Linked DNA regions of Homo sapiens: all the other regions are linked to region 1. The links are contacts of gene promoters, found by promoter capture Hi-C in human tissues and cell types (Jung and others, 2019). All regions are on one chromosome and are shown on one strand. Each heading gives the region's core, a stretch centred on a gene start or on the middle of the fragment in contact. The rest is flanking DNA. Distances are from core to core; before and after follow the strand shown. Region 1 holds the start of ZNF106 (zinc finger protein 106). Region 2 holds the start of TYRO3 (TYRO3 protein tyrosine kinase). Region 3 overlaps MGA (MAX dimerization protein MGA). Region 4 holds the start of TGM5 (transglutaminase 5).

What was found. The method cuts DNA at HindIII sites, captures the fragments that hold promoters and counts their contacts. A contact is called where the count stands out against the background at its distance.
Region 2: a contact is called between the fragment with the promoter of TYRO3 here and the fragment with the promoter of ZNF106 in region 1, in 1 of the 25 tissues and cell types used here (hippocampus).
Region 3: a fragment that was not itself captured here is called in contact with the fragment with the promoter of ZNF106 in region 1 in 1 of the 25 tissues and cell types used here (hippocampus).
Region 4: the fragment with the promoter of TGM5 here is called in contact with the fragment with the promoter of ZNF106 in region 1 in 1 of the 25 tissues and cell types used here (adrenal gland).

Annotation. Positions count from the first base shown.
Region 1 is chr15:42,489,644-42,492,778 of GRCh38, reverse strand. ZNF106 (zinc finger protein 106) reads left to right here and starts at 1,638. Exons shown (of 22, transcript NM_001366845.3): 1 at 1,638-1,799. It also overlaps a transcript of SNAP23 not described here. RefSeq lists enhancers at 1,466-1,575, 1,876-1,925, 1,976-2,165. The HindIII fragment of the contact is 10,038 bases long and covers 1-3,135 here.
Region 2 is chr15:41,557,726-41,560,860 of GRCh38, reverse strand. TYRO3 (TYRO3 protein tyrosine kinase) reads right to left here and starts at 1,649. Exons shown (of 19, transcript NM_006293.4): 1 at 1,480-1,649. The coding sequence starts at 1,603. RefSeq lists enhancers at 521-1,162, 1,729-2,230 and silencers at 1,034-1,234, 1,541-1,710, 1,721-1,860, 1,799-1,965, 1,911-2,000. The HindIII fragment of the contact is 10,010 bases long and covers 1-3,135 here.
Region 3 is chr15:41,665,709-41,668,843 of GRCh38, reverse strand. It overlaps MGA (MAX dimerization protein MGA), which reads right to left. Exons shown (of 24, transcript NM_001400225.1): 2 at 1-16. Among named protein-coding and RNA genes, the nearest start is that of MGA, 6.9 kb to the right of the region's middle. The HindIII fragment of the contact is 4,748 bases long and covers 1-3,135 here.
Region 4 is chr15:43,265,512-43,268,646 of GRCh38, reverse strand. It overlaps TGM5 (transglutaminase 5), which reads left to right and starts at 1,719. Exons shown (of 13, transcript NM_201631.4): 1 at 1,719-1,807. The coding sequence starts at 1,798. It also overlaps the pseudogene ATP5PDP1. The HindIII fragment of the contact is 9,168 bases long and covers 1-2,834 here.

The sequences.
Region 1 (3,135 bases), core at 389-2,888:
AGTTTCCTAAACCTCTAGAACAAATCTGGATTTACATAGAAGAGGTTAATATAGCCGCTTCCTTTCTTTTTTCTCTCTCTTTTTTTTTTTTTTTTTTTTTTTGAGACGCAGTCTCGCTCTGTCGCTAGGCTGGAGTGCAGGGGCGAGGTCTCGGCTCACTGCAACCTCCGACTCCCGGGTTCAAGCGATTCTCCTTCCTCAGCCTTCCGAGTAGCTGGGACTACAGGCACGCACCACCACGCCCAGCTAATTTTTGTGTTTTTAGTAGAGAAGGGGTTTCACCATGTTGGCCAGGATGGTCTCGATCTCTGGACCTCATGATCTGCCCACCTCGTCCTCCCAAAGTGCTGGGATTACAGGCGTGAGCCACTGTGCCCCACCGCTGCTTACTTTTATTTGAGACGTTGAAGGTCTTGTTAAACAGAGATGTTATAATCTCAATAATATAGGAGGGACACTCCACATAATTATCAACCTGAATGTCATTTCATTTATCTGATAGTCTTAGTCACTAAAATTAGGTTTCTGAGGGAATGGGTATGGGCTAAGTTTAATAATAAATATAGGCGGCCGGGCGCGGTGGCTCACACCTGTAATACCAGCACTTAGGGAAGCCGAGGTGGGCGGATCATTTGAAGTCAGGAGTTTGAGACCTGCCTGGCCAATATGGCGAAACCCCATCTCTACTAAAAATACAAAAATTAGTTGGGCGTGGTAGTGCACGTCTGTAATTCCAGCTACTTGGGAGGCTGAGGCAGGATTATCGCTTGAACCCGGAAGGTGGAGGTTGCAGTGAACCAAGAGAGCGGTTCTGCACTACAGCCTGAACGACAGAGCAAGACTCCATCTCAAAATAACTAACTAACTAACTAACTAAATAAATAAATAATAAATGTAGGCTGGGCGCGGTGGCTGACACCTGCAATCCCAGAACTTTGGAAGGCCAAGGCAGGCAGATCACTTGAGCCGAGGAGTTTGAGACCAGCCTGGGCAACATGGTGAAACCCCGTCTCTACTTAAAAAATATTATAAATACCTTAGGCATGAGTAAGAATAAAGTCAGTATTATGGAATGTCTGCTCTGTGATAGGCAGCATTCATAGATAAACACTTGACCTATGTTATTTAATCCTAGCAACACCCTGTGAGATAACATTATCCTAATTTTAACTCAAGAACCTGAGGTTCCAAGAAGAATTGTAATTTACCCAAAGTCACAAATTATTCGTAGCTAGTCCAAGATCTGAAACTCAGGTCTGGCTGTTCTAAAGCTCTTGCACCTTCCATTCAACTTCAGAAAGTTTTACAAGGAAGGAGTGTTTTCAAAATGTAGCCCGAACAGTTGCCACTGACTAAAGGAAATGGCGGGACACCAAGGAAGAGAGTAGGAGCTACAGGGAGGCCGGGAAAGAACAAGGAGAAACAAGGAGAATGAAAAAGGGACCAGGGAGGCTGTTCATAGCGTCCAACGCTGCGTACTGACTCTCCCGCAAGCGGGCCTGCCTTTGTTCTTCCTCCATTCTTTTTGAGAAAAACCTCTTCCTGTGTGTCCGTTGTTCACTCTCTTGTGTTCAAATAAAGCTAGATTATTGAGAACTGCGGACGGCAAAGGAAAAAAAAGCGAGCGTGACGGCTTCGGTGTGCGCCTGCGCGTTGGCGGCGGCTGTGGCGGGGCCCGGCGGGGAGCGGGTCCGGAGCAGGCTCCCGGACCCAAAACTGAAGGGGGCGTCTGAGGCGTCAGGGAGCTCCCTCGCCTGGCTCTCGGCGGCCTGATGGAGTAAGAGGGGTTGGCTGTGAATGTGAGTATCGACGGGCCGGCCTGCGTTGAGCGTATCGGAGCCCAAGGGTCCTGGTCGTCTGCCCCTTAGGGAGGTTGTGGGGCTGCAAGACACCACCGGGTTTCTACTCCTGCAGGCTGCGGCTCAGGGGCAACCTGGTGGTCCACTCTCCCAGAGCCGGCGCGGGTTTATGGGCAGGCGGTGCTGCTGGCTTCGGGGTACGGATTTTCGCGGGGGCGTTCCAGCTCTGCTCCCAGCCCCAGAAGGAAACGTGGCTCCAAAGCCTTGACCTTTAGGGGAAGCCACTGACCTCCTTCGTCCCCAGTTGGGCAGGGAGTCCAAAGACCCTGGTCCTTAAAGCCCGTAGGTCTCAGGCCAGGGACACATTTCAACCTCTCGCGACTGACAACCTCCGTTCTTTTTCCTCCTTTCGTTTCTCTCCTTGTGGGATGCGTCTTGATAATAACAACTAATAACAAATAGTAACAACAGCTTACTGTGTCCGTTTAATATTTAGTCCGAATCTCGGTGTATAATTGTGGAGAGGAAATGCTTTACATCCTCTTCCCCTTTCAATTTGTTGTGTAATCATCTTTGAGAGTAAGATTAAGGCATCTTATTGAGAAGTTTGAGATATCCGTGGCTTTTAGCAACTTGAGACTGTCATCCTAGGTAAGCGAAGTTCTCTTACCTAGCAAATAAGTGCTGTATCCACCATAATGGTTTATATCCAGTTTATTCAAAGCACAAATAACTTCTTTTTTTTTTTTTGAGACAAAGTTTCGCTCTTGTTGCCAGGCTGGGGTGCAGTGGCGCGATCTTAGCTCACTGCAACCTCCGCCTCCTGGATTCAAGCAATTCTCCTGCCTCAGCCTACCCAGTAGCTGGGATTACAGGCACCCACCACCATACCTGGCTAATTTTTTGTATTTTTATTTATTTTTATTATTATTATTTTTTTTAGGACGGAGTTTCGCTCTTTCGCCCAGGCTGGAGTGCAGTGGCGGGATCTTGGCTCACTGCAACCTCCGCCTTCCAGTTTCAAGAGATTCTCCTGCCTCAGCCTCCCGAGTAGCTGGGATTGCAGGCGTGCACCACCACCACGCCCGGCTAATTTTTGTATTTTTAGTAGAGACGAGGTCTCACCATGTTGGCCAGGCTAGTCTCCAACTCCTGACCTTAGGTGATCCACCCACCTTGGCCTCTGAAAGTGCTGGGATTACAGGCTTGAGCCACCACGCCCGGCCCACAGATAACTTTTGAGTGCTTATTAAGAGCTTAGTACTGTTGTAAATAGCATGGGAAATCTTAAAATTTGCTTTAAGCCCCGTTCTCAAGTTTGGTCGTGAATGAAATA
Region 2 (3,135 bases), core at 400-2,899, 930 kb after region 1:
CAGGCTGGGCTGAAACGATGGGAGTTACCCTACTGGGGCAGGCACTGCTCTAGGAATGACTGCTGCACCCAACTAGTGCAACAGGCTGCCAGCTCTCCACCCAAGGTGTCAGCCCAGACCCTGAATTGCTGCCAGCACCCTCTGCACCCAACCTTACCAAATGGAGCAGGGCTGAAGAAGGAAAGGAGGGGGTGCTCCCCTGAAGTGGAGAACATATGGCTGCAAAACCACGTCAGATCAAACACATGGCAGCCTTCCTGGCAGCCATCCACTCTATTAATACCTGAATGTGGGCAGGGGCGAGTGCTAGGAAGGTGGGAGGCAGAAGGGAGGGCTGGGGCCCTGAGCAGGGAGCCTAAGACCCCTGAGCCACTGCCACATTAACAGGGGCCACTCTTTGGAACTTGCGTGCGAGCGCGCGCGCGCGCGCGCACACACACACACACACACACACACACACACACACATACACGCACCTCTCCTGGCCTCCTGGCATGTTTTTAAGCAGAGAGAGGGGCAGGTCAAGTATCCACATAACTGAAATCCAGCCCTGCTTCTTCTCACCCTTTGCTGTGTGACTCTAGGCAAAGTCGTGGGCTCCCTGAGCATCAGGTCCGCACCTTTCGGCTTGTAAATACTCGTCACCCCGTTTCCCTTCCCTTCCCTGAGAGGCTGATATGGCAAGGAATGCTGTCTCAAGAGAAGATGCCAGCGGGTGGCCGCTGTCCTGGCCTGTGGCTCTTCCCTGCTCCCTTCACCCTCTCAGGACCAGTCACAGGATGGGGGCCAGCCTCCCGCTCCCTATATGCCCATCAGTCCCCGAGGTGCGGGGTGGGAACTTGGAGAGCACCGTGCTGCATGGAACGCTCTTGTCACCAGCAAATGCCTCAGTGGCTATGTGGGAACACAAGACTAACCCCTCCCAAAGACCAGCAACCTGGCACCAGCCCATCCTCTCCAAGGTTCTGCTTTCAGGAAGCTCTGAGGGCACAGGAACTCGAGTGTGCCCATTTGTTTTTTGTGACTGGGCACCCTCACAGCCCCTGTGTACCTAAATGGTATCAGGGTGGCCTTTGGGTGCCCAGCCCCGGCCCGTGTGGTTTCCGAGGCGGACCTTCGCGTGCGGGGCAGGCAGAATGGGGTCCCCAGTACTGGGAAGGAGGGAGCTAACAGCTGGGAACATCGAGGCGGGAAAATGCAGTCCCAAACACTCCCCGCTGACCACACAGCCCACACCCCGCTCCCTTCTCTTCCACCCCGCCAGAAGAGCCCCGAGCGCCAGAAAGTTGGGGGTGGGGGCCCGGCCGGAGATCTGGCGGCGAGCACTCCGCAGCGTGCCCTGTCCCGGCTCCGAGCCTCGGCCTTCGGCTCCGGACCCCCACCCCGACTCCAGCCCGCCAGGCCCGCCCCGGGCTCCGACCCCCGGCCGCGCCCCTCCGCAGCCCCCCGCTTCCCGCCGCCTCCCGTGCCAGCCCCTACCTGCGGCGGCGGACTCCGGGAGCAGCAGAGAAGCCAGAGCCGCCAGCAGCAGCCCGAGCCGCGGTGGCGGCGGCAGCGGCAGCGGCGGGAGCCCCGGCCGCCCCATGCTCCGCCTCAGCGCCATCGGCGGCGACGCCGCACCATGCCGGGCCCGGCCCGCGAGCGAGGAGGGAGGAGGGCGGGGAGGAGGCGGCGGGAAGGGAGCGGGAGGGAGGAGGGCTGCGGGAGGGGCTGGGGCCGCCCGTGGGGCGGTGCTGAGGCGACCGCCTCCGAGACCCGCGCCCGCCTCCGGCCGCGGTCGCCGCCGTCAGCAGCGCGGGGTCCCCGGGGCCGCTCCCGCGCCACCGCGCTCCTTCCACTGCCGTCGCCGCCGTCGCCGCCGCTGATTCATGTTCTTCTCGGAGCCGCCGCCTCCTCCCGGCCCGCCCGCAGCCCGAGCTCGCACCGCCCCCCCGCGGAGCCCCGGCGACTGGCTCGGAGCGCGAATCCCAGCCAGCGCCGCAAACCCCCGCGGCCCCGCCGGCGCCCCGCCGGCACGCCGGCCCCAGCCGCCCCCTGGCCAAACCTGAGGATCCGGCTTGGCCTCCAGGATGGGCTCCCCGGCCACGCCCCTCCTTTCCCTAAACCCGCTCCGGCATCTTTTCTAACCCAGCCCTCCAGAGCCTTCCCTCAAAACCCCGCTGTCAGCCCCCACCACACCCCAACTCTTGTTCGGACTCTGATCCCAGAATCCAGCATCCCCCTCTCAGGACTTAGAGCACCTCAACCCCTAGACACTCCCATCCATCTGGCTCCCCGAAACTGCCGTGACCCGGGGCTCCCCCAACAGGATCGGCTAGCATCCCTTCGTGCCTCCCTTTCATTGAGCCATTCACCCAAAATCCCCATATTCATGTCCTATTGCCATGCCTTTATCTCCAAGTCCCTCCCACCTGAAAAATGCCCATTTTCTCCAGCCCCAATTGCCGTATGTTTTCCAACTTGGGTCCTGAGTTTCCCAAGATCTTGGTAATCCCCAGGTTTTACCTAATATATATCCCCACCACTACACTACACAGGCCAAAGCCTAATTGCCCGTATCTTTTTGGGCTGTCATTTTTCCTGGTTGCTTCCCCTGCTTCTACCCCTTTTCCCAGGACCTGGTGTGAAAGTTGGCTGTGTCGTCACACTGTCCAGTCAAACATTAGCTATTATTAGTAGACCACCTTGCACACAGTAGGCTTTCCATAAATAAATAGGCAGATGCCTGTTAAATGAATGAATAATTGCTTCAGAGCCTGCCCCACAACCAGTAATCACGAGGGTGGCCTTGCCCACAGACATCCTGTTAGGCACATGCAGAGCTGGTTCCAAACCAAGCCTACCAAGTGTGCTCCTCCCCTTGCCCTTCCCTCCAGGGGGAAGCCCACCCCACACCCCTTCCAGAGGTCCTGGGTAGAGAGGAGGGACCAGCCACTCAGCTCCGGTTGCCGCAGGCTCACTGGATCTTTTCAGGGATTCTCCTGAGCAGCAGGGGCCTGCCTCTTCTTCCACTTGGCCCCAGCAGTGCTTGTTTATTAATTACCCTAATGATAACAACAGCAGTGCTGGCAGCAGCCTGAGACCCAGCTGGGGGCGCCCCCAGGCGGCAGCAGGAGGAGAGACTCATGAGGCACT
Region 3 (3,135 bases), core at 389-2,888, 820 kb after region 1:
CAATGGCCTTCCCATCCTAAGAAACAAGCAAAAAAAAACCAAAAACAAAAAACACCCTTTAATCAAGTGAGTATTTATTTCTTGAACAAAAATACAAGAACGATTATGTTATCCCCAAAATATTCCTAAATTCTTCTAAGACTTTGCTTCTAAGCTTTTCTTTCAATCACAGTAAGAATATTTACTCTGGAATATCTAATCATTTTTTAAAGTTCATTTTAATCTAATTAGTTAAGGTGCTTATATCCTAATCCTCTAACAATTCACTATAAATACTATAATCTCACACAAAGAAACAAAAGAGTATATTCATTATTAAAAAAGTATACAAAATTAAAAAGTTAAATTTGAAGGTTATGCATTTTTAAAGCATCCTAACACTTTATGAATTTACCAGAAGATTCCTTTATATAGCAAGTTCCCCAGTGATGAGTAAATTAAATAAGTAAAGTTCCATTTTCATCCCAAAGAGCTAATTGTACAGAATTAGTTCTTCATATGGTTCAGAAGACATGGTTCCATAAATAAGTAAAAAGCTATCTAACTTCTTAGTACACACGTTTAAAGAAGCCATGACAAATCACTGGAACTCAATGGACCTTACACTGAAATAAATTCCAGATGACTCTAATATTTAATTTTTTTATTCCTAAATCCTGAGAAAAGTTTTTTGATAAGACACAAAATCTAAAACCAGTAAGGCCAAAAAAAAAAAAAGTGATAAATTTAATACTATATGATGCCAGGTGTGGTGGCTCACACCTGCAATCCCAGCACTTTGAGAGGCTGAGGCCAGTGGATCATTTAAAGCCAGGAATTCGAGACTAGCCTGGCCAACATGGCGAAACCCCATCTCTATTAAAAATTAAAAAATTAGCCTGGTGTGGTGGTGCACGCCTGTAGTCCCAGCTACTCAGGAGGCTGAGGCATGAGAATCACTTGATCCTAGGAGGCAGAAGGTGCACTGAGCCAAGATCACGCCACTGCACTCCAGCCTGGGTGACAGGGAAAGACTCCGTCTCAAAGAAATAAAAATAAAATAAAATTTAATATTCTGTAAATTTTTTAATCTGGCAAAATCATTTAAGCAAAATCAAAAAGCAAACTAACCAGGAAAAGGTATTTGCAACTTATAAAGAACTCCTTTCCCTAATATAAAAAGGGGGCTGGACATGGTGACTCACACCTATAATCCCAGCACTTTGGGAGGCCAAGGCAGGAGGATTGCTTGAAGTCAGGAGTCCCAGACCAGCCTGTCCAACGTAGTGAAAGTCCGTCTCTATTAAAAAATAATAGCGGCGGGGGAGCAGTGGCTCACGCCTGTAATCCAAGCACTCTGGGAGGCCAAGGAGGTCAGATCACTTGAGGTCAGGAGCTCAAGACCAGCCTGGCCAACATGGTGAAACCCTGTCTCTACTAAAAATAAAAAAATTAGCTAGGCATGGTGGTGTGCGCCCATAATCCCAGGTACTCGGGAGGCTAAGACAAGAGAATTGCTTGAACCCAGGAGGTGGAGTTGCAGCGAGCCAAGATGGCACCACTGCACTTCAGCCTGGGTGACAGAGCGAGACTCTGACTCAAAAAAAAAAATAAAAATACATTAACAGTAATAATAATTTTTAAAGGCTTCCTACAAATCAACAAGACCAAATACCTAACAGAAAAATGAGTAAAGGATAATAAACGCAAATGGCTATGAATATGTACATAGTTAAGAGGAAAGCAAATTAAAGTCATCTTGAGATACTGTTTTTTTACTTATCAGACTGGCAAAAATCAAAGCCTGGTAGTGCTGGAAAGGGTTAGGTCAACCAGCATTCTCCCCTAAGCAGTTACTGGGAGTATAAAATAATAGAATCTCTAAGAGAGGGCAACTTGAAAATATCAAAAGTACAAATCCATATATCATCCTATGACAAAGAATTGTTCCCAGGACTTTAAGTTTTCTTAATTCACTGTTAAAACCCACTATAGGACTTTATTTTAAATACACACACCTGTGATAAATGATATCTATACAAGATTATCCCCTGCATTCCCACTTATAACAGCAAAAGACTAGACAGGAAGAGAGAAGTCCTTAAAATGGTAAAACAAATGATGACACATCCATAGAGTGGAATGTTAACAGTCACAAAAGAGAATGTATAAGCTTAATGAATGCATGCAAAAAGTATCTACAAGATATATTAAGCGTAAAATGTTCAGAAGAGTTGTAAATTATGCCACACATCTTTTAAAAGTTTTTTATTGTACCTCTTAAACTTCAGACAGGGAGAACACGTGCAGGTTTGTTTACATGAGTCTACTGCATAATATAAGGTTTGGGCTTCTAATGATCCCATCATCCAAGCAGTGAACATAGTACCTGATAGGTAGTTTTTCAACCCTTGTAAAAGATTTTTCCTTTTTAAAATCAAAGAAATAGACAGTATTTCGGTCTTTAAAATAAATAAAAAGCCAAAGAATGAAAAAGAACATGTACATATTTGCTTTACACAGACTATCTCTGGAAAGACAGAAAAGAAAACAGTAGTATTGGTCATATCCAAGGAAAACTTGATGACTTGGAAAAGATACCCTTTTACACTTTGTAAATTTTGTGTCTTGTGAACACACAACCTTTAAAAACTAAAACACAGGCCAGGTGGGCAGGTGCAGTGGCTCACACCGGTAATTCCATCACTTTAGGAGGCCCATGTGGGAGTAACGTTTGAGGTCAAGAGTTCAAGACCAGCCTGGTCAAAATAGCCAGTCAGTCTCTACCAAAAAAAAAAAAAAAATAGCAGGTATGGTGGCCAGGAGGCTGAGGCAGGAGGACACCTTCAGCAGCCCTGGAAGTTCAGGTTGCAGTGAGCCATAACCATATCACTGCACTCCAGCCTAGGAGACAGAGTGAGACCCCGTCTCTTTAAAAAAATAAAAAATAAAGTTAAAATTAGTTAATTATTAAAGGTTATAAAGAAAAAGGTCACATATATTGTATGATTCCATTTATATGAGATGTCCAACACAGGCAAATCTAGAGAAACAAAGTAGATTAGTGGTTTCAGGGGAAGGGGTAACTGGGACTAACTGCTAATGGGTGTGGGATTTCTTTTTGGTGTATACTTTAAAATGATGAATTATATGTTA
Region 4 (3,135 bases), core at 470-2,969, 780 kb before region 1:
AGCGTGGCGTCGAGGCAGCCGTGGGACAGAAGGCAGTCTGCAGCAGGTGAGGGGTGGTGGGAGGCAAAGCAGTGGGCAAGGAGCTTGGCTGAGAAGTGGAGTTGAGAGAAAGGGCAGGGGCTGCTAGGGAAGCTGGGGATGAGAGTTGAAGGTGGATGTGCTGTGTTAAAATAGTGAACTGCATTTGTGCACATATACCCTATAAGAGGTGAGTGGGGTGTGGGCCATGGGCTGCCATGGTCAGTGAAGTATACCAAGATGGCTGGGTGAAAACTTGCTCTAAAAACCATTGACTGGGTAGCTTTTGCAGAGATGATACCCCAAAACCAAAAGGCCATTGCTAATTATCTGAAATCCTGGAATGAGACCCTCACCTCCAGGCTGGCTACTTTACCTGAGAATCCACCAGCTATTGACTGGACTTACTACAAGGCCAATGTGGCCAAGGCAGGCTTGGTGGATGACTTTGAGAAGAAGTTTAATGTCCTGAAGCTTCCTGTACCAGAGGATAAATATACTGCCCAGGTGGATGCTGAAGAAAAAGAAGATGGGAAAACTTGTGCTGAGTGGGTGTCTCTCTCAAAGGCCAGGTTGGAGAATATGAGAAACAGCTGGAGAAGATGAGGAACTTAATACCATTTGATCAGATGACCATTGACGACTTGAACGAAGCTTTCCCGGAAACCAAATTAGACAAGAAAAAGTATCGCTATTGGTCTCACCAACCAATCAAGAATTTATAAAATTAAGTCCAGGAAGAAGCCCTGGCCCTTATAGTACACATTCTGGACATTAAAAATAAAAATAATTACATAGGTTTTAAAAAAGAGCTGAGTGGGGACAGAGAGAATTGAAAATACAGGAGGGAGGACAATGCTGGTGAAAGAGGTTCCCCAGGGAGAAGGACCCAGAAAGCAGGGGATGTGGGGAGAAGTGCCCCAGAGCACAGAAAGACAGGGTAGGCATGGGGGTCCCACCCACTCCACAGGCAGAGCCCTTCCCCCTCCTGCCCTCTCTCTCCTTCCACCTGCGCTTTTCTCCCTATGAAAGGGCTTGTGCCTTTCTTACTAGGATCAAGGCCCTTGCTCACCGGCATTCCCACCCTCTCACCTATTTCCACACCTCCTCCACAAATCTTCCCAATTTTTCTTCCTCTATTTTATTTGTGATTATTTGCTTTTATTTGTGATTTGTCTTGGACCTGCCAGGTCTCATGCAAGACAATGCCACTGCCAAAGCTAAATACAGTGAAATCATACCGAAGGAGATCCAGACAGAGAGGGTTCTGTTTGCATTTAATGTTCAGGAAGTGACTTTTCAGGATAAAAGAGAGGCCTTGGTTACCTAGCAGGGTTCTCGGCTCAATGAGGTGCTTTAAGCTGTGAGCAGAGTCTTGGGACCCTGATGCTCCTTCCAGCAGCCCCCTGCATCCCTCTGGCGGGCCCATCAGCTCGCTTCTCCCTCCTGACTTCTCCACCACAGCACAGCACCTCCCTGGGAATGCCCTATTGCTCAAGAGCTATCAAAGGCCCACACGGCATAAGGCTGTGACAGTTCATCAGCCTCCACACCTCCTTTCAATTCAGCAACACTGCCAAGAAAAACCTGAGGGCAAGTGAGCAAACCAGTTGTGATCTGCTCGGTAATCAGGTGGCAGTGCAGCAGTCCAGCCCCGCCTTCGGTTCTCCTGGAGGCTTCCAATGGAAGGGGAAGTAGACACTCTGGCACCAGTTTGCTGAAGCTCCAGACCGCCCAGCTGTTCTGTGGGGAGCATCCCAGGAACCGGAGGCAGCTACCATGGCCCAAGGTAGGGAAAGCCCCTGTGGCCACTGGAGTTCAGGGATAAGAAGGACAGAGAGAGACTGTAGGAAGTCAAGGGGTGGAGGGTGGATTCAGAGAAATAAAGAAGTAAATACAGAACTGAGGCAGGAAAAGCAAGAATCCCAGAAACCTCAGTATTCATTGGTGGCTTGAGAACCAGGAGACAGCGTAGAGGCAGACAGGTAAACACAGCACACAGCTGCTTGCTAACATGCCTGCCTCCATAGCCAGGTGGGACAGGGCAGGGCCAGAGATGAGGGGGTCAGGGTTTCTGTCCTTCTCTGCTACTAGCTGACCCTTTGACATTGGACAAGTCACTTCGCCTCTAGTTTCCAACCCCCTTGCCTGAAAAAGGAGGGATTGGACCAGACAATCTTGAAATTGTCTTCCAGCTCTTAAGTTCTCTGAATCTTCATATCTTCTCTTCTTCCTCCATTTCAGAAGGTCTATTACTGATCTTAGCTAATCTTCCCATCACCAACCTTCTCTCTATATCATCCCCCTCACTCTGGAAAGAGTTGCTGTGAAGATTAAATCGTTAGTTGAAATCATTTAGAGGAATAAGCTTTCAACTTCCTCTACAACTGTAACAACCTTACCTTTATTTATTACTTTTTGTGTTTAAATTTTTGTTTTAAAATTTTCATAACTTTTAATTGCACAAGAAATATGGGAATACATAGTTGGAGTAAAATAAATAAATAATTATAGATAAAGCTATAGTCCTCTGCCCGCCATCCCCAATGGCAGCCTCATCTCCAGAGTAAACACTGTTACCTGTCTTTTGTCTGCACATTTACACTCAGACATACATTTACTCAATGTAATACATAGGATTAGCATGTGTGGTCTTTTTTGGTATATCCATGGTATCATCATATTGTATGTATATTTCTACAACTTGATTTTTTTCACTCCACAGTATGTCTGGGAGCTCTGTCCATGCCAGTCAGTACCTATAGATCTACCTCAATATTTCTCATAGTATCAGTGCAAGTAATTTCTAATCCTGTCCCCTATTGATGGGCATTTAGGTTGTTTTCAATTTTCCGGTTACACAAGCAATATTGCAAGGAACATACTTATCCATGCCTCTGTGTGCTCACGTGGGAGTGTCTCTCTAGGATAACTACTAAGATCACTTACTTTAAAAGTTCTTTCTACAGTCTTCTGTTTATTTCCTGATCATCTCACCCCATTCTCCTCTCACCTCAAGGAAAACAAATATGCCCAGTAGTCAATGAACCTCCTATTTGAATAGATGGCACCTGGGCTGAAGAGTCATTCCTGTCTTAGGCAGAGATTAACATGGCC